Linked DNA regions of Homo sapiens: all the other regions are linked to region 1. Evidence: promoter capture Hi-C in 16 types of primary human blood cells and fetal thymus (Javierre and others, 2016). All regions are on one chromosome and are shown on one strand. Each heading gives the region's core, a stretch centred on a gene start or on the middle of the fragment in contact. The rest is flanking DNA. Distances are from core to core; before and after follow the strand shown.

Evidence for each region. Contacts are between HindIII fragments. The CHiCAGO score rates a contact against its expected background, and 5 or more counts as called.
Region 2: a contact is called between the fragment with the promoter of CNOT2 here and the fragment with the promoter of TMBIM4 in region 1, in 2 of 17 cell types (naive CD8 T cells and naive CD4 T cells). The highest score is 8.1, in naive CD8 T cells.
Region 3: a fragment that was not itself captured here is called in contact with the fragment with the promoter of TMBIM4 in region 1 in 3 of 17 cell types (non-activated CD4 T cells, naive CD8 T cells and activated CD4 T cells); the score reaches 8.7 in non-activated CD4 T cells.
Region 4: a contact is called between the fragment with the promoter of LYZ here and the fragment with the promoter of TMBIM4 in region 1, in 1 of 17 cell types (non-activated CD4 T cells). The highest score is 6.2, in non-activated CD4 T cells.

What each region holds. Positions count from the first base shown.
Region 1 is chr12:66,166,686-66,172,571 of GRCh38, reverse strand. It overlaps TMBIM4 (transmembrane BAX inhibitor motif containing 4), which reads left to right and starts at 2,576. Exons shown (of 7, transcript NM_016056.4): 1 at 2,576-2,717. The coding sequence starts at 2,621. RefSeq lists enhancers at 2,595-2,674, 2,318-2,842, 3,325-3,424. The HindIII fragment of the contact is 2,376 bases long and covers 901-3,276 here.
Region 2 is chr12:70,239,839-70,245,724 of GRCh38, reverse strand. It overlaps CNOT2 (CCR4-NOT transcription complex subunit 2), which reads right to left and starts at 2,292. Exons shown (of 16, transcript NM_014515.7): 1 at 2,245-2,292. PRANCR (progenitor renewal associated non-coding RNA) reads left to right here and starts at 2,365. Exons shown (of 5, transcript NR_120460.1): 1 at 2,365-2,413; 2 at 2,832-2,901; 3 at 3,496-3,544. RefSeq lists enhancers at 1,563-1,702, 2,433-2,632, 1,807-3,006 and silencers at 2,003-2,262, 2,334-2,873. The HindIII fragment of the contact is 4,785 bases long and covers 1,532-5,886 here.
Region 3 is chr12:69,584,257-69,590,142 of GRCh38, reverse strand. CCT2 (chaperonin containing TCP1 subunit 2) reads right to left here and starts at 4,684. Exons shown (of 16, transcript NM_006431.3): 1 at 4,619-4,684; 2 at 3,799-3,873; 3 at 3,325-3,390; 4 at 2,527-2,638; 5 at 2,137-2,213; 6 at 1,881-1,993; 7 at 456-658. The coding sequence starts at 4,621. MIR3913-1 (microRNA 3913-1) reads left to right here and starts at 5,320; the gene lies at 5,320-5,421. MIR3913-2 (microRNA 3913-2) reads right to left here and starts at 5,420; the gene lies at 5,321-5,420. RefSeq lists an enhancer at 4,314-4,653. The HindIII fragment of the contact is 1,624 bases long and covers 2,387-4,010 here.
Region 4 is chr12:69,345,929-69,351,814 of GRCh38, reverse strand. LYZ (lysozyme) reads right to left here and starts at 3,434. Exons shown (of 4, transcript NM_000239.3): 1 at 3,271-3,434; 2 at 1,543-1,707. The coding sequence starts at 3,406. The HindIII fragment of the contact is 11,988 bases long and covers 1-5,886 here.

The sequences.
Region 1 (5,886 bases), core at 1,327-3,826:
TTAGGTTCCTGTTTCAGTCTTTTTTCCTTCTTTTTTTTTGTTTTTGAGGTGGAGTTTCGCTCTTGTTGCCCAAGCCAGAGTGCAATGGCGCGATCTTGGTTCACCACAACCTCCACCTCCCAGGCTCAAGCAATTCTCCTGCCTCAGCCTCCCGAGTAGCTGGGATTACAGGCATGTACCACCATGCCTGGCTAATTTTGTATTTTTAGTAGAGACGGGATTTCTCCACGTTGAGGCTGGTCTCGAACTCCTGACCTCAGGTGATCCACCCGCCTCAGCTTCCCAAAGTGCTGGGATTACAGGCATGAGCCACTGCGCCCGCCTCCAGTCTTTTGTCTATTTTTCTATTGACTGTCTTTTTTTGGTCTGGATTTGTAACAATTGTTTTTATATTCTGAAAAGGAGCCTTAGGTAGGTTATATGTATAGCAGATATCTTCCCCTACTCTATGGCTTCCTTTTCACTCTCTTATGGTATATTTTGATTACTAGAAATTCCTAATTTTAATATAATTTAATTTGGCAATCTTTTCATTTGAAGTTAAGTGCTATTTTGTATCTGGTTTCAGAAATCTTTGCCTTCCTCCAAATCATATTCTCCTGTATCATTTTCTTTAAGTTTTATTGTTTTTGCCTTTCACATTTATATCCACAATCTATCTGGAATTTATTTTTTTTTGTAACTGGTAAGAGGTAAAGGATCAAACTTTGCTGATGCTGTTTTTAGTCAATACAAAGGTGGGTTCCCAATTTAGCTCCAGTTTGTCCTCTATAATAAATTCCATTATTACGGCGGGGCAGAGAAAGAGGGGATGGCTTCGGGTTAGGATGGGAGAGAAAACGGATTACATTCCCAGTGTCATCTGAAGTAAAACTTTTCTCAGATTTTTCTCAGCAAGCTTTTTAAGTCCTCTCACCTGGAGAGTGACTAAAGAGATAGAGGCCATATCCCATTCACCTATCCATTCAACAAACTAAACTAAAACGAGGGGCCGGACACAGTGGCTAACGCCTGTGATCTCAGCACTTTGGGAGGTCGAGGTAGGGGGATCACTTGAGCCCAAGTTCGAGACCAGCATGGGCAACATGGCGAAATTCCGTCACTACAAAAAATACAAAAAATTACCCGGGGGTGGTCACCTGACCTCAGGAGGTCAAGGCTGCTGTGAGCCGAGATAGAGCCACCGCACTCCAGCCTGGGTGACAGACTGAGACTCTATCTCAAAACAAACCAACAAAAACAAATTAAAATGATATGCTTGTAAAATGTTTGTAAAATCATAAAAGATAAAGTGTTTTTTTGTTTTGTTTTGTTTTTCTTGTCATTGTGGAAGTGACGTTAGTTCTTTTGGCAAAGGCTTCTGAGAACATCAAGTTTAAGGATTTAGTTTAGAATAGACTGTTCCACAACTGTTCTGAATTCCACTTGCTAAGTGTTCGGGTGTTGTGGTTAAGGTGAGGACTGGGCAATGTGGGTAGATCAGAGTAAACTCATCAAAACAATTCCAAGGGACCCTAGGATGACACTACTCTGGGTATGTCTACACCTCTTTATATTGGAATGACAACAATATCATGAATATTCACTCTAATCCATTGTATTTGCCACCATCATCTCTCTCTTACAGTAATACAACTTTATCCCCTTTTCTCTGCCTTTGGTAATGGCCCTCTTCAATGTATTCTACTTCTGGCCTAGGATGATCTGGCCTTTGTTTATCTATCCAGCCTCATTCTTTGCCACCTGTCCCCTACACCAGCTGAGCTTCACCGTCTCCCTCTTTGCAGACGTTGGTCCCTTGAGGCCCAGCCTACATCACTGCTCTTTCTCTGGTTGGCTCCTACTTGCCTTTCAGGATTAAATATTACTTCATTCAGAAAGCCTGGTTTATAGAAAGTGCTCAATAAATGTAGGTATTATTATTATTTTAAAATAATAGAAGTAAAAATGCATCCTCGGTGTGATTATTGAAAAAGTGGATGAATGAGATGGGTATTTGTTGAGTGGATGGGTGACTGGGACATGGGTTCTATCACTTTAGCAACTCTCCAAGGTGAAAGGACTTAAAGTGTGTTCAGGCTGGGCGCGGTGGCTCACGCCTGTAATCTCAGCACTTTGGGAGGCCGAGGCGGGCGGATCACGAGGTCAGCAGATCGAGACCATCCTGGCTAACATGGTGAAACCTCGTCTCTGCTAAAAATATAAAAAAATTAGCCTGGCGTGGTGGCAGGCGCCTGTAATCTCAGCTATTCGGGAGGCTGAGGCAGGAGAACCGCTTGAACCCGGGAGGCGGAGGTTGCGGTGAGCCGAGATCGTGCCATTGCACTCCAGCCTGGGCAACAAGAGTGAAACTCCATCTCAAAAAAAAAAAAAAAAGTGTGTTGAGAAAAGTTTCACTTCAGATGACGCCGGGAATGTAAACCGTTTTCTCTTCCATTCTAACTCGGAGCCATCCCCGCTTTCTCCGCCCAGCTGGAATTTTTGAAGCGAGAAAATCGACTCGCTCGGTGTTCGCCCGCCGACGCCGCACGGCTTGCTGGGGCTGGGCTCTTCCTCGCGGAAGTGGGGAGGAGGCGGTTGCGGTTAGTGGACCGGGACCGGTAGGGGTGCTGTTGCCATCATGGCTGACCCCGACCCCCGGTACCCTCGCTCCTCGATCGAGGACGACTTCAACTATGGCAGCAGCGTGGCCTCCGCCACCGTGCACATCCGAATGGGTACGTTGTCCCCTCTCCAGTGCCTCCCAGCCGCTTGTCTGCACTGCTCGGCCTCTAGAAGCCGACTTCCGGCTTCCGAGGGAGAGCGGCCATCTCCTGGGACTCACAGGGAGTGCTCACTGAGCTCCCGGCCCTCCTTCTCCGGGTACCAGAGGACTGGCGCCCTCCTCAGGGAGTCGGGGAGGCGCTTCCTCCCCTCCTAGCGGGTGTGGGAGGGCGCCAGGCCCAGAAGGCTTGCGGCTGTCCTGTGTGCGCCCCGGCTCCCCAGCGGGCGCCGCGGTGTAGGAAGGGACAGATGGAAACCGCCGCAGCCTGAATTTGGCATCTTGAAGTGAAAAGAAACGTCGTGGAAATGAGTCGGTTGATCACTGTGACTGACGTACACACGAGTGGAATCCACGGCCTGATGTTTTTGTTCTGTGGGGTTTCGCGTTACAGGCTTATATTTACCGTCCTGTGCTAGGCTGGAAGCTCCCTGACGGCACTATTTCCTCTCCGCAGGGCCCAGAATGCAACAGGTCTTTGAGGATTATTGAGGAAGTTGCTCAACACAGAAGCTTCCTAAGTCAGTCTAAATTGTGTTTTAAGTTATTACGTAGTAGCCAATGGGCAGAAATTTTTGAATTTAAAATGCTCAGCTTCATCTACGTGGAAGCCATTGCCTGCTCTAGTTTGGTCATTTGATCGCCGAAACAGCCCCAGACTTTCAGCCTGTTTAGGCAGCTGGAACTTGTTCTGGAAAAGGAAAGATGAAGATAGTTCTGATGTGCTAAGAATCTTAGTGCCTAGAACTTGTTCTGGAAAAGGAAAGATGAAGATAGTTCTGATGCACCAAGAATCTTGGTGCCTAGCATTTATATTTTTGGAATTGAATTTTGAAATTATTTTGGCCAGTGAACTCAGCTTTTTTTTAAAAAAAATTAATTGTGGTAAAATACAGGTAACATAAAATTTACCGTCTTAACTATTTTTAAGTGTATAGTTCAGTAGTGTTAAGTTATTCACATGGTTGTGCACTGTTAAAAGAAAAACTTTAGACACATTAAATCTAACGGAGTTTGAGCACAGAATGATTTGCGAATTGGGCAGGTCCCGGAACCAGAATAAGGTTCAGAGTGATGAGTCCTGCCGCTTGGTGGGAGAAAATTTATGGAGAGAGAAAGTAAAGTGAGGTACAGAAAATAGAAGTGAGGTACAGAAAGAGTTGATTGGTTACAGCTTGGTTTTTGCCCGTTTGAACATGGTTTGAACACGTGGCCATCTTTGGCTGAAACTCAGTGATTGGTTCAAGCGTAGGTTACAGCCTGTTTACTAGGTTATAGTTCACTATATACCGAGAACCCCTAGGCTGAACTTAAAATATCTAAAGGCATAGCTTTAGACTAAACTTATATACCATCCAATATCCAGAACTTTTTAATCTTGCAAAACTGAAACTCTATACCTATTAACTCCCCATTCCTTCCTTCCCCCAGTCCCTGGAACCACCATTTCACTTTCTCTCTCTGTGAATTTGGCTACTCTAGATACAATCAGTATTTGTTTTTTTGTGGTTGGCTTTTTTCAATTAGCATAATGTCTTCAAATACATCCATGTTGTGGCATATGTCAGAATTTCCTTTTTTTTTTTTTTTGAGACAGGGTCTCGCTTTGCCACCGAGGCTGGAGTGCAGTGGTGAGATCACTGCTCACTGCAGCCTCTACCTTCTGGGCTCAGGTGATCCTCCCGCCTCAGCCTCTCGAGTAGTTGGGATTACAAATGCAGGTCACCAGGCCTGGCTAATTTTTTTGTACTTTTGGTAGAGACGGGTTTCTCCATGTTGCCCCATCCGATCTTGAACTCCTGGACTCAAGCGATCCTCCCACCTCAGCCTCCCAAAGTCCTGGGATTACAGGCATGAGCCACTGCACCTGGCTGCAGAATTTCCTTTTTAAGACAGTAGTAGTACTTTGTATGTATATACCAAATTTTGTTTATTCATCCATTGATGGACATTTGTGTTGCTTCTACCTCTTGACTACTTTGAATAGTGCTGTCATGAATATAGGTGTGCACATACCTCTTCAAGACCGTGCTTTAATTCTTTTGAATATATACCCAGAAGTGGAATTGCTGGATTGTGTGGTAGTTCTATTTTTAATTATTTAAGGAACGGCCATACTGTTTTTGATAGGGGCTACATCATTTTACATTCTCAGCAACAGTGCACAAGGGTTCACCTTTTTCTACATCCTTGCCAACACATTCCGTTCTTTTCTTTCTTTTTAAAATGAAAATAGCCATCAAATGAGTGTGAGGTGGTATGTCCTTTTGGTTTTGATTTGCATTTCTCTAATGATTTAATGATGTTGCACATTTTAAAAGTATGCGTGTGGGGCATTTATACATTTTCCTTGGAGAAATGTTATTCAAGTCCTTTGCCCAATTAATTTTTTAAAAGCAATTTTAGGTTCATAGCAAAATTTAGCAGAAAGAACAGAGTTCTTATATACCCTTTCTGCTTTTCCCCAAGCCTCTTGCACTAATAACGTTCTGTACCAGAGTGGTATGTTTGTTACAATCAGTGAACCTAGACTGGACACCTCATTATCACCCAAGACCAAGGTTTACGTTAAGGTTCGCTCTTAGTGTTGTATATTCTATGAGTTTGACAAATGTTTAATGACATGTATCCACCATGATAGTATCATACAGAATAGTTTCACTGCCTTCCTCTGTGCTCTGCCTGTTCATCCCTCCCTTCCTGCTGATCTTCTATTGTCTCCATAGTTTTGTCTTTTCCCAAATGCTGTATAGTTGGAATTATCATGTAACCTTTCAAATTGGCCTTTTTCACTTATAATATGCGTTTAAGGTTTTCTACATGTCTTTGCATGGCTTGATAGCTCATTTTTCTTTAGTGCTGAATACTATTCCATTGTTTGGATGCATTACAGTTTATTCATTCACCTACTGAAGGAAATCTTGCCTGCTTCCAAGTTTTGTCAATAAAGCTGCTTTGTAAACATCCATGTGCAGGTTTTTGTGTGGACATAAGTTTTCAACTCATTTGGGTAAATACCAAGCAGCACAATTGCCGTGTTGTATAGTAAGAGAATGTTTAGTTTCATAAGACATCACCAAGCTGTCTTACAAAGTGGCTGTACTATTTTGCACTTCCACCAGCAA
Region 2 (5,886 bases), core at 1,043-3,542, 4.1 Mb before region 1:
GCATCAGAAGATAAGCCACAATCTGAGTTTTATCTTCAAGAGCAGGTACTTGGGGATATAAATCACTCATACACAAGCATTTTGCCCTCATTTTTCCACCATGTAAATTAAAGTATTATAGAAATTGAAAAATTGTATAGGCTGTATTTGTTGCTTGGTTAAACAGGCAATTCTCATTCCCTGAGATCAGATTAGGTTACAGATATCTCTACATTGTATACTTAGAAAAAGATTCCTGCCAACAAATGTTTACATTAACTTATTTGTATTGATAAAGCACTAATCAAGATGCAAAAAAAACTTCAGCAGTTTCTCACTTCCTCTCTAAAATACAAAGTATTCACAAAAATTATTACAATTCAAGCTCTCAGAAAATATGAGAGAAAAGTACCTTTTTTACAGTAAGGATCTTACAAAGTCAAGAAATAAGTGAGTAGAGTGGAACATGTTTTGTCTTTAAGTGTATTTTGTATTTTTTTCTTTAGATTTAACATTATAATAGAACTACAAACTAAACAAATTCAACATACAGAGCTTACTAATTATCTTGGTCCATTATAAAACATTTCAATGAACTGGGATGTGAATATAGACACTTAACCATTTCAGCCAACTATGATTCTTAACCCTTTCAATCTGCAATAGTTACCTTACAAAATTGTGAGATTTATTCATTGACGTTTGGAAAGAACTGTTGTCAATTATGCCAAGCATTCCCAAACTCAACATCAACCTTGCATGTAAATGGATACTTTAAAATTTCTATCTCATCCCTCACCCCATACTTTATTCTTTCCATTTATATTGCTTCAAAAGGGAAATCAACAGTCACACTTATGATTCCGAGCTCTAAAAATTCCTAATATTAAGCATGACACTAAATATGTTCAACTTTGAACCTTAAATTCAAGTTGGCCTCCCTCGTGAACTGATTTTAACTGAGTACTTTTTACCATTTCGCCAAGAACTAAGGGTTCAAAGCAGTGTACTTAATTATGAGGAATTGCCCAAACGATTTTAAAAGGAGTGGGATTCTCTGACCAAGACTTTTATGAAAATGAAACAAAATATGTTGCACTCAGTCTTCCGGATGTTGAAAAGTGAAGATGTCTCCAAGGATTCGAAGGAAGTTGATGTTTAGGTTCCCTCTGAGAGGGTGGTACCCTTAATGTAAGACTTTTGTGGTAGTAATACCGTACCTACAGGCCTGGAATAAATATAAGGTCTAAAACCTTGGAAATACTTTGTATAAAAGAAAACTCCAATTCTCTTTTGCTAAGGACCACAGTTACCAAGAGTTATCAGCTTTCACCCGGACAGACAACAGTGCTTCAATGAAGAACTACAAAGGCCTCTTTTAACCCTACTCTTTTCTTCTGTTAAACTTTTAAGCGAGACCTACGACAGCAAAAGGTGGAGAGGCCCCTGCGGAAGTAGAAACCCAGGACTTGCAACTTCACAGACAGAAGCGTCTGTGGTTCCTCCGCCGCCCCAGGATCATCCGGACTCAGTCTACGACACTACGGAAGCTTCACCTTCCTGGTGCGGTGGCAGAGGCGGCATCGCAGTTGCATTCCTTCTCCCTCCACCATGCACAGCCTTCGGTATCCCAGGGCCTGCAGGATCCTGACACCCGTTAGCCAGTCCAGTGTCTCCCATCTGACACTTGCAAACACACTAACAGAAATACACATAACTGGCAGATGATATACGTGTATTGAGAGAAGGTAAGAAGCCACAGACAGCACCAGCTGCCGGGAAGGCGGCAGAGCCGTCTAAAGCGGGCTCGAGCTCGTCGGCCACGGCCACGGCCGCTGCCGCCTTCTCTTCTCCCCCAGGAAGCAGCGCGGCGGCAGCGGCTCCTCCGCGCTGGCGGGAGCCTAGGGGAGTGGAGTCTGGGGAAGCCCCACCACTCGCGGATGGGACCGGGCCTAGGATCTGGAGCTGCTGCTGCTGCAGCGGCCCGAGTACAGCGACGCTTTACGTCCGGTCCACCACCACCCCCATACACACCCCCTCCCTCCCTCCACCGCCGCCACCCCCCTCCCCGCCCGCTCCGCTCTCCGTCTCTCGATTGGAGCCGAGACAAAAGCAACGGGAAGCGGTGGGCCGGGACGCTACCGGCGGACCCTGGGCGCGACCGGACCGGCCCCGGGGCATTCCCCCGCCTTGCGGGGGCCCCGAATCTGCCGCCCCCGCCGCGCGCCCCGCTGCCAGACTTCCGAAAATTTACCAAAAACTCACCGCATGAATTTTCTTGTCCCGCGGATCCAAGATGGCGACGTATCCACCGCGGAGGCTGCTGGGAGCAAGACCTTTACCCTCTGACCGCCGCCGTGACCCCCGTCGCTCCGGCTTCCCTCCAGGCGGCAGCGGAAGGTGGGAGCGACGACTGCAAAACGGCAGCGATGGGGTGGGTAGGCAGGCCGCTTTCAGCGCGCTTCTAACAAGGTGGAGAGAGGCGCTTCACTTCCCTACCGCCCTTACCGCCGCTCCGTCTTGTCTCCCACCGACTCACAGGGAGGCTTGCTGCTCCTCCGCGGCCGTTACAGAGAGCGGGGCTTCTGCGGCCGCTACCGTTTCCCTGGGGCTAGGTTGCTTCGCAGAAGGCTCTGGCCCTGAGTCCGAGGGGGACTGCGGGGTCCAGGGGCGATGAATGGTGAGGTGGCTTCAGTCCGCCCTCCCCGGGGACGCTGAGCGTGTTCGTGTTCGTGTTTGTGTTTGTGTTTGTGTTGGACACCCCCGCCCCCGCACGTCCGCCTCGTCACTCCTCCCCTCCTCACTCCCGCCACCTGGAGCGAATCTGATCGTGTCCCTGTTTCCTCCCTCAGCTCCCGCAACCTCCGGAGCTTGTGCGCGTACTTCAGGGACCGGCACCACGTCACCGTCACCTCCTGAGTAGTGAGTTCCCCTCTGATGAAACCACTGGTGTGTTTACTCACCATCCCCACCATTTTTTTTTCCCCAACCTGATGGAAGGAAGTACATAATGGAGAGCAAGTTTTTAAAGCACGGTCGTGTCGTGTGAACTTGCTCTAGCCAAATTAGGTTTATAGCACTTTTTTTGGCTCTCATTACCTCCAGTCCCCACATAAACAAGAGTGACCAGCTGGGTCATCCGCAAGACCGTTTGAAATTATTGTGGCTTGGGTGGAAACTTAAAGGAGTGAAGTATCTGCTTTCCAGAAAAATCGTTGTCATTCAAAGTGAAATTAAACTTGTTTTCTTTGCAATAATTCGCCTTTATTTCCTTGTATATCTGTAAACTCTTCACTTTTTTGTAATTACTAGACAATTCGGACTTAAAAAGAGCCTCAGCATGTGTATTTTGGAATTGTGTAGCTTCATAATGTGAAAATTATTCTTTTCTATTTGAGTAAAGTACAGTTAATTTGAAGTAAATAAAATTTCTATTTCCATTGGTTGTTTCTTTTAAAAAGTCACCTTTTACTTACAAAAGAATCACTGTAATCCAGTTTACATTTATCATTGAAGGTCAAAAGCAAGAAATAGGAAGAAACACAAGCATACTATAAAATAAAAGGTAACTGTCATGTTTTTGAAGGTAAGGTGTTTTGACATATCAGCAGACATTGTGTGAATTTATTTCAACTCCTAGTGGTACTGGTGTAGGTAGAAAATGTTTTGCTTGGTTATTCATTTCATCAAACACTCTACTTCACTGTTTTTTTTTCACTTCAGGAAAATTCGAGGAGGAACAACACATACTAGTGTCTTTCCTTTCTTTCTCCCCGTCTTCTGCAAATAGTCCCTTCCTCTTCCTGCTTTCTCCTCCTTCTCATGTTAACATCTTCAACCATAAGATGGTGTGTTAAAAGATTGAATATACCTCTATGGAATGACTTCCAGAGGGTGTAAGTCTGATATGAGAGTTTTATTACCTTGAGTATTTTACTGGAAGAGATAGAACAACAAACATTTTCATAATAAATGTGTGGGTTAGGAGTGTTAGGAGAAAATACACTGATACTATTACTTTCAATATTTGATACTACTTACTTTGACTCTCACTGAACACCTATTTGTTTAGGATGAATTCACTTTAAGCCGGGTTGAAGAACAAGCCTTTAATTGTCCTATTATTTGTGCCAAATCTATTATAAATTTGTTAAAAAATTTTTAATACCTACCTTAGAGGGTACTCTAGGTATTTAATGAGCTAGCATTTGTTAAAGGCTTGTATAGTAAGAATTCTTATAGTAAGAGTTCTTACCAATAGATGGTATATTTTTTAAATTGTCCTGTTGCATCAAAAAGTTCATCTTTATTGGTAATGTTGATTAAGTTTGCCCATTTGGTAGTTTGGTTTCTTTTAACTATCTTACTAGATTTTCTTACTTTTACCTGAAAAGTAGTCCTTACTAATAGGCACATGTTTTGTATATTTCCAAAATATGTATTATGTTAAATTCTCTGTACACTTTATTTAAAAATTACAGACGTTGAGGGAAAAAAAATACCCTATTAAGGGAAGAATGAGTTTGTGTATAACTTGTAGAAGAAGGAGGCCACCCATTTTTAGAAAAATATGGATGGTATTGAAAATTTTGCCATGGCAAGGGATAAAAAGGACAGGCTTCTCTAATGTGTCTGAAACAACATTTGAATCCCCTTTGTTCATTCCCTAAATCTGCTGCTCCTTTAGAATTCCTGATTTTCATAAATAGTACCACCATTCACTTATTTGCTCAGGCATAAAACTTGGAATTTTCTGATTCTTCACACTCATACAACTCATCAGACAGTACCATCAGTTCTTCCTGACAAATACATTCTGAATTTAGCTACTTATCACTTCCACTGGTACAACCCTTGGGAGCCACCATCATCTGTTGCTGGACCACAGCAATAACCACACTAGTTGCTATCACTTTCTATCTGTACCCTCATGAATATTTTCCCATTTAAACCATTCTCTATATACCAACCAAAGCAATCACTTAAAAAATGTTATTAGGTTATGTCACTCCCTTGTTTAAAACCCTCCAATAGCTTCCTTATGCACACAGAATGAAATCGGAATTCCTTACCATAGCCTTCAAGACTGCATAATCTGGCTCCTGCCCACTTCTCCATCTTCCCAGGAAGCAGCACAGGAAGTTGTTCTCACCCTTCTTACTGCCTCCTTTCTGTCGTGGGCTGTGCTTTTTCTAGTCTGTAGCAGAGTCTGTTAGTTGTCCCCAAAAATTCCTCCATTTTTTTCATAGTAATAGACATGGATACATGGCTACCCAGAACAAAGACTATATTTTGCAGCCTTCCTTGTAGCCATGTAATAGTGCTGGCTGATGGGATGTAAGCAGTATATCATGTGGCACACTTGTAAAACCATCCTTAAAAGATAGTTGGTGCACACCTTCAATGCGGCTTTTCCTTTATCCTGTACCGTGGAATATAGATGTGATGGCTTAGAACTGTAGCTGCCAATTTGTGCCTCATGCAAGTTCTCTCATTCTAGGGATGGCAAAACTAAACTGGTGGAAACCAGGGTCTGTGAGAACTTTATGGATCAGAGCACCATGCTAGCCCTGCAGTCGTAAATGTCTATATTATTAAAGCCACTATTTTGGAGTCTCTTGTTCTCAACTGAATTTAATCTTACCTGATACTCTGTCTCAGGGCCTTTGCACTTGCTTTTTATTTTTTATTTATTTATTTTTTTTCTGCCTGGGATGTGGTCTTCTGTCTTGGATATGGCTGACTCATTCTCTTCCTTCAGGTTAACCCAAATATCTCTGACAGGCCTTCCCTGGCCACCGTATCTAAAATAGCTCACGTTCCCATTTATTCTCTGTCAATCACGTGCCCCTCTATTTTCTTAATAGCATTTATAATTTATCATTATCTTGTTTATTCACTGTTTAT
Region 3 (5,886 bases), core at 1,949-4,448, 3.4 Mb before region 1:
CACAAAGGGCTGACTATATTTATTGAAAAAACCTGCATTGTGAACCTACATAATTCAAACCCATGTTGTTCAATGGTCAACTGTACATCCTCAACAACCAGCTAACACAATGATTTGACTGACCCAGACCCTTCCTGGAGAATACATATAATCCTGGTAAAAGTACCATTTGAGAATAGATGATTTCTAGTAAAAGAAAACATTTCCTCTTTATCAGAGACTGCAAATAACTTCATGGTAGTTAAGTAAACTCTAGAGATCATCAACAATGCTGGAATAGCGCGGGAAGAGGAGTACACTGTCAATAAAATGACAAAAATGGTTGCACATATGATATGTCCTTAAATTCAAGTTCACTGGCTTTGTAAAGGGTCACTGGTCTCAAAACAGAATTCACTCAGTATTCAGCCCTCAGCATCTAATCAAAGCTTCTTGTATCTGACATTCATACATACCTTCATCTAAATAGGAATCTGCCAAACTTCCTCCTAGCTTCTTGATAATATGAATTGCCTCCAGGTTGCCAGAGCCTTTCAGTCTGAGAACTGCTTCTACAGCTAACTTTGTAAAGTGGTCTTTGTGATGAGTAAGAAGTTTTGAGGATAATGTTGTGCCCGCAATATTCATTAAATCTTGACGGAATTTAACTTCATCGGAACTAAATAAAACCAACCAAATATACATATTAACCCTACTTTACTTTTCAAAATTTATCTAGATATTCATGTCAATAGATAATTTTACCCTAACTGATCAAGTCTGTAAGCTATATGAAAAGAATTAAACCTCAGCAGTAATCAAGAAACACAAATTAAAGATGTTATTTTCCCCACCAAACTGGCAAAATGCCAAAAAAAAAAGAGGGGTGGGGGCCACACAAGCATGCAAAAGTCTAATGTTGGCAAGAATGTGAGAAATGGCCGGGCACAGTGGCTCACGCCTGTAATCCTAGCACTTTGGGAGACTGAGGAGGATGGATCACTTGAGGTCAGTTCAAGACCAGCCTGAGCAACATGGTGAAACCCCATCTACACTAAAAATACAAAATTAGCTGGCTATGATGGCACATGCCTGTAGTCCCTGCTACTTGGGAGGCTGAGGCAAGAGAATCGCTTGAACCCGGGAGGCAGAGGTTGCAGTCAGCCGAAGTCGTGCCACTGCACTCCATTCTGGGCAACTCTAAGAGCGAGACTCCGTCTCAAAATAAATAAATAAATAAAAGGACGTGAAAAACAAGTATTATTATACAGTTGTGAATGGGCAAATAAATAGAAGTGCCTTAAAACAGTGGTCCCGGACCTTTTTGGCACCAGGGACTGGTTTCATGGGAAGACAATTTTTCCACCTGCTGCTCACCTGCTGTGCAGCCCAGGTTTGGGGGTGCCTTAAAACACACACACTTACCTTTGGACCCAACAATTACACTTCTAGAAACCTTTGGGCTATGTCGCAACGTCACAAAGTTATTTTATAATGCTAAAAATCATCAAATACACAAATCTCCCCCTACAGATAGGTTAATACAGTCATTCTAGCCAAATATTCAAATGTGTAACTCTATTAAAATACTGCACAGAAAATTGACATCCAAAAATGTGCTTAATATTTAACTAGGTTAAAAAGAGGCTAACAAATTCTCTATACAGTATTATACTATTTGCTTTATTTGTATATTTTGATGATATATACAAAAAGACTAAAAACCCAAACTTAACTTTAGTGGCTATCTCTGGAGGCTGATGTAGGTTTGACTGTTGGAGTGGGGTGAGGCAGCAAGATGATCTTTGTGTATGCTTTTCAGTGTCCTATAGATTTCTTGCATTAAGCATGTTATGAAAGAACACTAAATGTTTAGAACAGTAGTACTTTGCTATACAAACCCATGATCAACTGCAGAACTCAACAGCGCCTCTCTTGCAGCCTTCGTGGCTTCTCTCCAACCCGCTATGATGGTCTGTGGATGAATCTTTTTTGCAATTAAAGATTCTGCTTCCTATTAATAAAGTTATAAAACAAAAGTTATAAATAGAAAATTATTAAGCACTCCTCAATAGTAAAGACAGAGGAAGTAAGGACTAGATTACCTCTGATACTCAAAAACACAGTAGGAAAAAAGAGTTGCTTAGTTGCTCTTACCCTTAATAATTCTGCTGCTAAAACGGTAACAGAGGTAGTGCCATCACCAACTTCATCATCTTGAACCCTTGACATATCTAGAAAAAGAAATTAGTTATTAACTCAAAATTGCTTCTTTGCTTACTAAATTCTCCAAAAATATTCACTACCAATCTAAACTTACCAGGGTTCCTCATTCAACAAATTATTTGGAACTCTGAGGTCTGAAATGCAACAGTTTTACCACCAACATACGGGCACTCCTGAAGCTTGTATTTTAACAACGATAATTAACAACTAGTGGACATCAATTGACAGTACGATTGGTCAACACAGCCTATTTATAAAGTTATTTCAAAAATGTTAACAAACAGTATTATTAGGTTGGTGAAAAAGTATATTCAGACTTACCAACTAAAACTTTAGCTGCTGGATTGTCAACACCAATGTTTTTTAGAATAGTGGCACCATCATTGGTTACCATAAGAGAGGCATCTCGTCCACTGCTTAGAAGAATTTTGTCCTAAAGGGAACATAATTGGTTCAAGTTAAGACATAAGCACATCTTGAAGAATGCATGGATCAATCAGTATTCTCACACAGTGCTAGTGTATAAACACTCTGGATAGCTATTTTGTGGTATCCATTCATCAAATGTTTTCAATACATACACCACGTAACCAAACCATGTATCTACCCCTAGAAACACTAGAAGCACAGGTAGACACTAGTTTTTGTTTCAACACCGTAACTGCAAAAACAATGGAAAGAAACTATCAATACAGCCATAATTAAATTATAAAATAATTAAGGTACAGGATAATATTTGACAGTTAAAGGGGCAGTGTTATCTACTTACACTGAAAGGAATTTAAAAGAGCAAGCTACAAAAAAGTATTGATAAATAGTATCTGTTTTATAAAACAGTATGTTACATGAGTATAAAATACATAATGAAGTACACATACTTCTACATAAACAGAATATTAGAAGATGTACGTGCAAATGATAACAGTACTTGTCATTGGGGAGGGGCATGGGATTGGGGATGGTGATTCTGGGGACTCTGATTTTTACTAAGGAGAACATACTTGTCTTTTATAATTAAACGTTTTAAAGATTAAAAAGCATTTTAATACGCTTGTTATTATATTTCCACCAAGCGCTCTAAAACAATATTAAAATATAAAACTTTTCTATTTTTCTTACCATGCCTTTGGGTCCCAAGGTGCTCTTTACCAAGTCTCCAATGGCGATGGCACCAATAAAAGAAGTCTGGAGTAAAAACCAAGGAGATTATCAGAATCAACTTTACAGTCTTCAAGTACAGTTTTATCTTTATTTACTTTTTTTTTTTTTTGAGGCAGAGTGTCGCTCTGTCGCCCAGGCTGGAGTGCAATGGCGCGATCTCAGCTCACTGCAACCTCCGCCTCCTGGGTTCAAGCGATCCTCCTGCCTCAGCCTCCCGAGTAGCTGGGATTACAGGTGCCCATCACCACGCCCGGCTAATTTTTGTATTTCTAGTAGAAACGGGGTTTTACCATGTTGGCCAGGCTGGTCTCGAACTCCTGACCTCAGTTCATCCGCCTACCTCGGCCTCCCAAAGTACTGGGATTACAGGAGTAAGCCACCGCGCCTGGCCTCCAGTTTTATCTTTAAAACAATGCTTAGAACAAGGCTTACCAGACGAGCTGTCTCTGCTCTCTCTTCATCAGCTCCTGCCTTAAAGATGTTAACAGGTGCAAGGGAAAGGGACGCCTGAAAAGGAAAACCAAGAGGCATTCCGTTTAAGTACCAATACTCTAACACATACACTGAGGTGCCTTCCACTAGTCTTACAAGTGGACATCTAAGAGAAAACTCATTTACAACAATGTTTTCAATCAAATGAAGCTTCCATCATCGGAGAAAGCATTTAAGTGGGAGAGAGGGACTTGTAGGAGAGCGACATGGCTTTTCGGATTTACAAGGCCCCCGGGAGTATAAATTATACACCAGCGAGATTGACAGTTACGTACAGCGAGACTAAAGACGATCTTGAACTAAGAATGAGGCAGGGAGGGGTTGCAGGCCATCAAGGTGACGCCTGCCGGGCGGGCGAGGGAACGCGGCCTCCATCTTCCACCCTCGGAAGGCTGCGGCCCCTCCACCCTCTGATGGCTCAGACCCCGTCGCTCCAGGCTCCGCCCCTAGAAGGAGGGCGGAGCGGGTCCCACACTAGAAATTTCTTCGCTCCGGGTGAGGCGCGGACCTGGGCTGCCGGGACTATGCAAAGACCTAGGCACAAGGAGACGCTGGCTTTGCGGTCCACCCCTCCCCCTCGTGGTGAGCTCCACCGGCTGGCCTGGCGCAGGCCGCACGCCCCGCGCATGGCTCGCACCATGTGCGGAGGGCCGGGGAGACAGAAACGGAGCCTACGACCCTAGCAGGACAGAGGAAGCAGTGGGGTGGCAAGAGCACGGCGGAGCAGGGGTAGGGCAAGAGGCAGGGGAGTCAGGCTCACCATGGTTCCGAGGAGTTCCGCACACAAGTGAATCCCCTCACAGCTCGTGCTCGGGACCAGCGGACTGAAGGAAGCCGGAAGTGACGCCACACGCCCTACTTCGGGGGGCGGGGCCCCGGCCTGTCGTTACCGCCAGCAGGCGTCCCATTTTGATTGGAGCCCCACGGGCCGGAAACGCAGCCTTTCACACTGGAGGGGGCGTGGCCGCCGCTCCAGAACAAAGAGGCGGCTGCCGCGCGGGTTGCCATAGAAATGGAGTTCTTGCTCACACTTTTTATTTTCTTAAATTTAATCTTTAAACACTTCTATTAAAGTCACACATGTACACAGTTTAAAGTGTTATATACCAATAAGGAAAAACATAATTTATCTGCCTCACCACTTCCTGTCTCCAGGAAAACTGCTTTCAACTTTTTCAGTTTTTTGGAGGGGCTATTTACTATCATATTCCCAGATAATATTATTGCTATGTTAATTTTAAACATTATTTACTGAGTATTACAGAAGAAGACTTCCTTTTCTCTTACTGAATTTTCAGACGTTATTTCTAACTGGACGTTGACTGCCCAGGATAAGGTCTTGTGAACTGAGAGAGACATTTATAGTATTTTATCTTTGCCCTATTTACTCATTTTCAGGAATTTTTGCATTTCGGTCTTTTTTTTTTTTTTCCTCCAATAGTAGAGACGACTTATTAGTCTTTGTTTATAATAAACTGAAATATTTGGGACTGATCTTGATGTCTGCCAAAACCTTGGCAGACATCAAGATCAGTCCCAAATATTTCAGTTTATTATAGACAGTTTTCTACTTTCTCTAAGTTGACGGATGTCTAAAAATTTGTTCTCTAAAAAATTTTTCTGTCATCTACTGATACCCTCTTTTCTCCCTTTGACTAACTGATCGCTTAAGCTCCTCGGCAGGGCGCGGTGGCTCACCCCTGTAATCCCAGCACTTTGGGAGGCCGAGGTGGGCGGATCACCTGAGGTCAGGAGTTGGAGACCAGCCTGGCCAACATGGTGAAACCCTGTCTCTACTGAAAATACAAAAATTAGCCGGGCGTGGTGTGCATGCCCGTAATCCCAGCTACTCAGGAGGCTGAGGCAGGATAATTGCTTGAACCCGGGAGGCAGAGGTTTCAGTGAGCCGAGATCACGCCGCTGCACTCCAGCCTGGGCAACAGAGCGAGACTCTGTCTCAAAACAAAAACAAAACAAAACAAGCTCCTGGATTTTTCTTTTTCTGTTTTGTTTTTTTTAGAGATGGGG
Region 4 (5,886 bases), core at 2,185-4,684, 3.2 Mb before region 1:
TGCTCAATAGTAACAATTGGATCAGTAAATTATAGAATATTCATATATTAAAATTCTAGTCATTCTTTTAAAATGATGATACAGATTTGTATTTTTTTCTCATCTGGAAAATGGAGCAAAAGATCATTAAAAACCGATTTGTATTTGCTGACATGCAAATAATTTTGTGTGATAAGAAGCAAATTGTAAAGCCGTGTGTATAATACAATTTAATTTTTGCAAAAGCACACAGTATTTACATGTTTGTATGTGGGTTTATATGTGTATGATATAATTTAACATTCATACACATGATTGATATACATTCTGGAAGAATATATACCAGAATTTACCCATGGTTATAAACCTCTGGGTAGTAAGATTATGGGTGTTATTTTTCTTATTTGTATTTTCTAATTTTTATTTAATGACCAAATATTATTATATAATATAAATTTTTTTAATTAACTGGATTTTAGAAATAAGATTAATGTTCTTTATTGGGAATTTTAATATTTAACAATTTAATAATATCAACTTTGCAAGATTTCTGCAATATTTTTGACACTGAGGATTCCACATGGTATTTCTATTTTTATGAGTTCAGTAAAATATTTGTTTCACTCCAAATAAATAAATCCTTAAGTTAATTTGTTATTTACAATAATAATTCTACAGGAACTGTATTTTTTGAAGATGTAAACTAAAGAATTTAGAAATGGAATATCATCATGTTCCTAATTCACTTAAAAGTCTCTCAGCAGTAGCCAGGTACAGTGGCTAACGCCTGTAATTCCAGCACTTAAGGAGGCTGAGGTGGGAAGATTGCTTGAACTCAGGAGTTCAAGACCAGCCTGGGCAACACAGAATTTGCCTGTACTAAAAATTTCAAAAATTTGCCAGGCATGGTGGTGCACACCTGTAGTCCCAGCTACTTGGGAGGCTGTGGTGGGATGATCACTTGAGGCTGCAGTGAGCTGTGATGGTGCCACTGCACTACAGCCTGGGGACAGGGAGACCCTGTCTCAAAATAAAACAAAACAAAACCAAACAAAAAACTCTCAGCAAAAAAAAAAAAAAAAAAAAAAAAAAAAAAAAGGCATAGAAGAAGCAACTATGGCAAAATGTTAACAACTTTTAAAGTGCATAATGGGCATATGGCTGTTTATTATACTAATGTCTCTAATTTTCTATACATTTAGAACATTTCATAAAAAAAAAAGTAAAACAATTGAAAAAGGACCATACAACTAAATTATCCCAAAACCTCCCCAAAGTAAGCAGGAGCAATGGCATTGTTCTGGACAAAGCATCAGTAAGGCCATTGACAGTAAATTAATAGGTCATTCCAGAAACTTCTGTATATTAAAAAACATCAACCTTTTATGATACCACTTCTTTAATTTCTTACTCAGGGAATTATGAGGAAAATAATAATGACTTTCTGGAAGTTGAGATGTAGTTTTTCTAGGTCCCTCATGAACCTTTCAAGGCTTTTTCATTTGTATTGAGTCTCAATTCTTGTAAGTATAACCAGATTGGTCAAATATTAGCTTGTCTTACCACTGCAGGATAAATGACAGGCATTAACTGCTCCTGGGGTTTTGCCATCATTACACCAGTAGCGGCTATTGATCTGAAATATCCCATAATCAGTGCTTCTGTCTCCAGCATTGTAGTTTGTAGCTCGTGTGTTGTAACCACTCTCCCATTTGGCCAAACACATCCCTGAAAAGAACTTATTTTTAGTAATAAACAGCAACACTAAGTGACTTATACTCTATAGCAAAATCAGTTCTACTTAGCTACTTCTATTTTACTGATTTGTTTTATAAGTATAAAGATTTACTTATAAAATATCTTAGCACTTTAGTGTTAAGATAAGGGACTTGTAAGAGAATCCTTTTGTAATGCAAATCATCTTGTAACACCAACGAACAATATAACATACTTTTAAAATATTAAAATACATGTTTGTTCCATTGCTTTTACCCTTCCCGTGCTCCCATCCCTCAGGCAACATTCAGCCAAGAACAGAAAAATCAACAGAGCTGTTGAGTAGATTTTGTAAATTCATAGCAGATACATAGGCTGATGGAAAAATGCTTTTTTTAATCAGAAAAACATAAGGATTTTCTGATAGAAATTTTCTTATAATATCTAAAGGTGAATTTGGATATCAAGTTAGAATCTTGAAAACAAGACTATTCCGTGATTTCATCCCTTCACTCATTCATTCAAAAATAGCTATTGAGGGGAAATGTCTGAATTCAATCTGAAAACTACAGAGATTATTACATCGACAACTATGTACTAAACTATAAAATAACTTTTCCTCATGGCACATCTTGAATTGTGTGGGAGAAAATGAAAGATAGTTAATCAAGTAGAGTAGATAAAAATAATAAAACATTTCATGCTGAGTTTCTGGGATCCTATACAAAGAGTGACTGAAGGGAACTAGGTTCCTACTGCTCTTGTGTAGGGAATTCAATATATTCTTTAAAAACATCACTGTTAAAAATCCCATGTCGGCTGGGTGCAGTGGTTCACACCTGTAATCCTACCACTTTGGGAGGCTGAGGTGGGCAGATCATTTGAGGCCAGGAGTTCAAGACCAGCTTGGCCAACATGGTGAAACCCCATCTGTACTGAAAATACAAAAAATTAGCTGGGTGTGGTGGTACACACCTGTAGTCACAGCTACTCAGAAGGCTGAAGCACGAGAATCACTTGAGCCCAGAAGGCAGAGGTTGCAGTGAGCTGAGATCATGCCACTGCACTCCAGCCTGGGCCACACAGTGAGACTGTCTTTAAAAATAAAATAAAATAAAATAAAAATAAAAATAAAAATCCCACATCACGGCAGGGGACTTGAAGACAAGAAAAATACTGCATCACTCTAGGCTCTCAGAGCCCAAGTTCAAAATGGGAAATAACTGGAGTCACATACCAAGGACTTGAGAGAGCTCTGCCAGGTCCTCAAATGTATCTTTCAGTCAGCTTACATGTGCCATTGAATCTCAGGCACCCAGCAAACTTCCTAGCACTAGAACAGTACAACAGGTCCTGTTTTACTTAGAATGGAATTTTCCCCTGCCATGCCCGTATTCCTTTATCGGGTATCTCTGGTTATAAAGAACCAAACTGATGTTTTTAGCCATTGTAAGTATACAAACCCACAAAGAAATAAAACATCTATTCACTCAAAGCCCCTTCTTCTTCTTCCTTCTCTCCTAGTGTCTGTTCCATACGTAGCTAATTCTCTGGAATTATGGAGAGTAGACTTACAGTTTGCTAGGCTGATTCCCCTGTAGCCATCCATTCCCAATCTTTTCAGAGTTCTGGCCAACTCACACCTTTCAAAGACCTTGCCCTGGACCGTAACAGAAAGGAGGACAAGCCCCAGAACAATGAGAGCCTTCATGTTGACTGCTAGGTCAGAGTGCTAGGCTGACCAGGGTGAGCTGGCCCCAGTATTTAACATCTTTTAACTTCCTTCTTCCCCTTGTGGTTTGGGGGCTCCACCCTTTCAGTTGTGTGGAAAACAGGAACTGTCTATTGATCCACTGACTCTAAAGAGATTTTTTTAATGCTTGAAGAGAGATATGCTGATGTCCTAAGAATTAGTCTACAGGAAAATAATGAAATGGAATTGTTTAAAGTACTGGCTCTGGAAGAATTGGGGCATAGCACTACTTCCAAGACAGGAACTTTCTTCTGTTTGATTATGAATTTGAGCAATTATAAAGAAAAAAATGACTATTTTGTGCAGCTTAAAATGAGCTGTGATTTTTGAGTAACATTCAATTTTGTGAAATTGTTTTGTATGCATTCACTTTTTTATATTTATCTTTTTTACTTAAAATTATTTTACATATCTTTTCCACAAAATGGACATGACACATGTGCCTGTTGTCTTAATGGGTGTATAGTGTGACACCACGTTGCTCAGCTAGTTTCTTACTCTAGACTCTTTTTGTTACTATAGCAAATTTTTTATTATTATAAATCAGTGTTTTACTATTATAAATAAGGTTCATGTGAACAACTTTACCAACTACCTTTTTTTTTTTTTTTTTGAGATGGAGTCTTACTCTGTCACCAGGCTGGAGTGCAGTGGCGCAATCTCAGTTCATTGCAACCTCTGCCTCCCGGGTTCAAGCAATTCTCCTGCCTCAGCCTCCCAGGTAGCTGGGACTACAGGCATGTACCACCATGCCCAGCTAATTTTTGTATTTTTAGTAGAGACAGGGTTTCACCATGTGGCCAGGATGGTCTGGATCTCTTGACCTCGTGATCCGCCCGCCTCGGCCTTCCAAAGTGCTGGGATTACAGGTGTGAGCCACCACATCCGGCCTACTTTACCAACTACTTTTCACAATACTTTGCCTCCCCTTTCCATATTAGAACATAAGGGGTCATTAGAAAGCAACAGCATTTTAAAAATAAAACCTACCCAAACATATATCCAACTAAATGCTACCTTTGAAAATAGCAATCTCAGGAGGCTGTGCACAGCTTTTAAAACAATGCTACCAGAACTCAAAAAGAACTGCACTTCTGTATCTGCCTAAGAGGACAGATTCTGAGCCACACAAAGTGTCATCACTTTGTAGTTACCCTTATTTTTCATCAGTGGCCTCTAAAGATTACCAGATTTGGTTTTAAATGACAGTTCAAGGACCCTGTTCAAAAATCAAGAATAATCTCATTTTTCAGGCTAGGCCTAATTTTGATTCTTCAATAATAAATAGGGCCAGGTGCAGTGGCTCATGCCTGTAATCCCAGCACTTTGGGAGGCTGAGGTGGGTGGATCACCTGAGGTCAGGCGTTCAAGACCAGCCTGGCCAACATGGTGAAACTCCGTCTCTACTAAAAATACAAAATTAGCTGGGCGTGGTGGTGCGCCTATAATTCCAGCTACTTGGGAGGCTGAGGCAGGAGAATTACTTGAACCCGGGAGGCGGAGGTTGTGGTGAACTGAGATCACACCACTGCACTCCAGCCTGGGCAACAGAGTGAGACTCTGTCTCAAAAAAAAAAAAAAAAAAAAGAAAGAAAAAAAAAATGGCCAGCTGCGGTGGCTCATGCCTGTAATCCCAGCACTTTGAAAGCCCAAGGCAGGCTGATCACCTGAGGTCAGGAGTTCGAGACCAGCCTGGCCAGCATGGTGAAACCCCGTCTCTACGAAAAATAGAAAAATTAGTTGGGTGTGGTGGTGGGTGCCTATAATCCCAGCTACCTGGGATGCTGAGGCAGGAGAATCGCTTGAACCGAGGAGGCGGAGGTTGCAGTGAGCCGAGATTGTGCCATTGCACTCCAGCCTGGGAAAGAGAGTGAGACTCTGTCTCAAATAATAATAATAATAATAATAATAATAAATAGTGAGACAGATTTTCAGGACCCAAAGAGACAGAAACCAATTAAAAGAGTTAGTCTTGGCTGGGCGCAGTGGCTCATGCCTGTATTTCCAGCACTATGGGAGGCCGAGGCAGGAGGACTGCTTGAGACCAGGAGTTGGAGACCAGCCTGGGCAACATGGCAAAACCCTATATTTACTAAAAATAAAAAAAAATTTAAAAATGTGCTTGTAGTCCCAGCTACTCGGGAGGTTGAGGGTCAGAGGATCACCTGAACCCAGGAGGTTGAGGCTGCAGTTAGCTGAGATCGTACCACTGCACTGCAGCCTGGGCAACTAGAGTGAGACTGTGTCTCAAAAATAAAAAAAAGAAAGAAAGAAGGAAAAAAAGAGTTAGTCTTTGGTCCCCTTTATGCCGTTCCCAACTCAATACTAAAGAACAGCCAGTTATTACATATGCTGGTTTCAGCCTTATGCTGATAAGATTAATTTTTGTTTTCAAATGTTTAAATAGTTATGACCTTATACTTTCTTGGAAGTGGAAC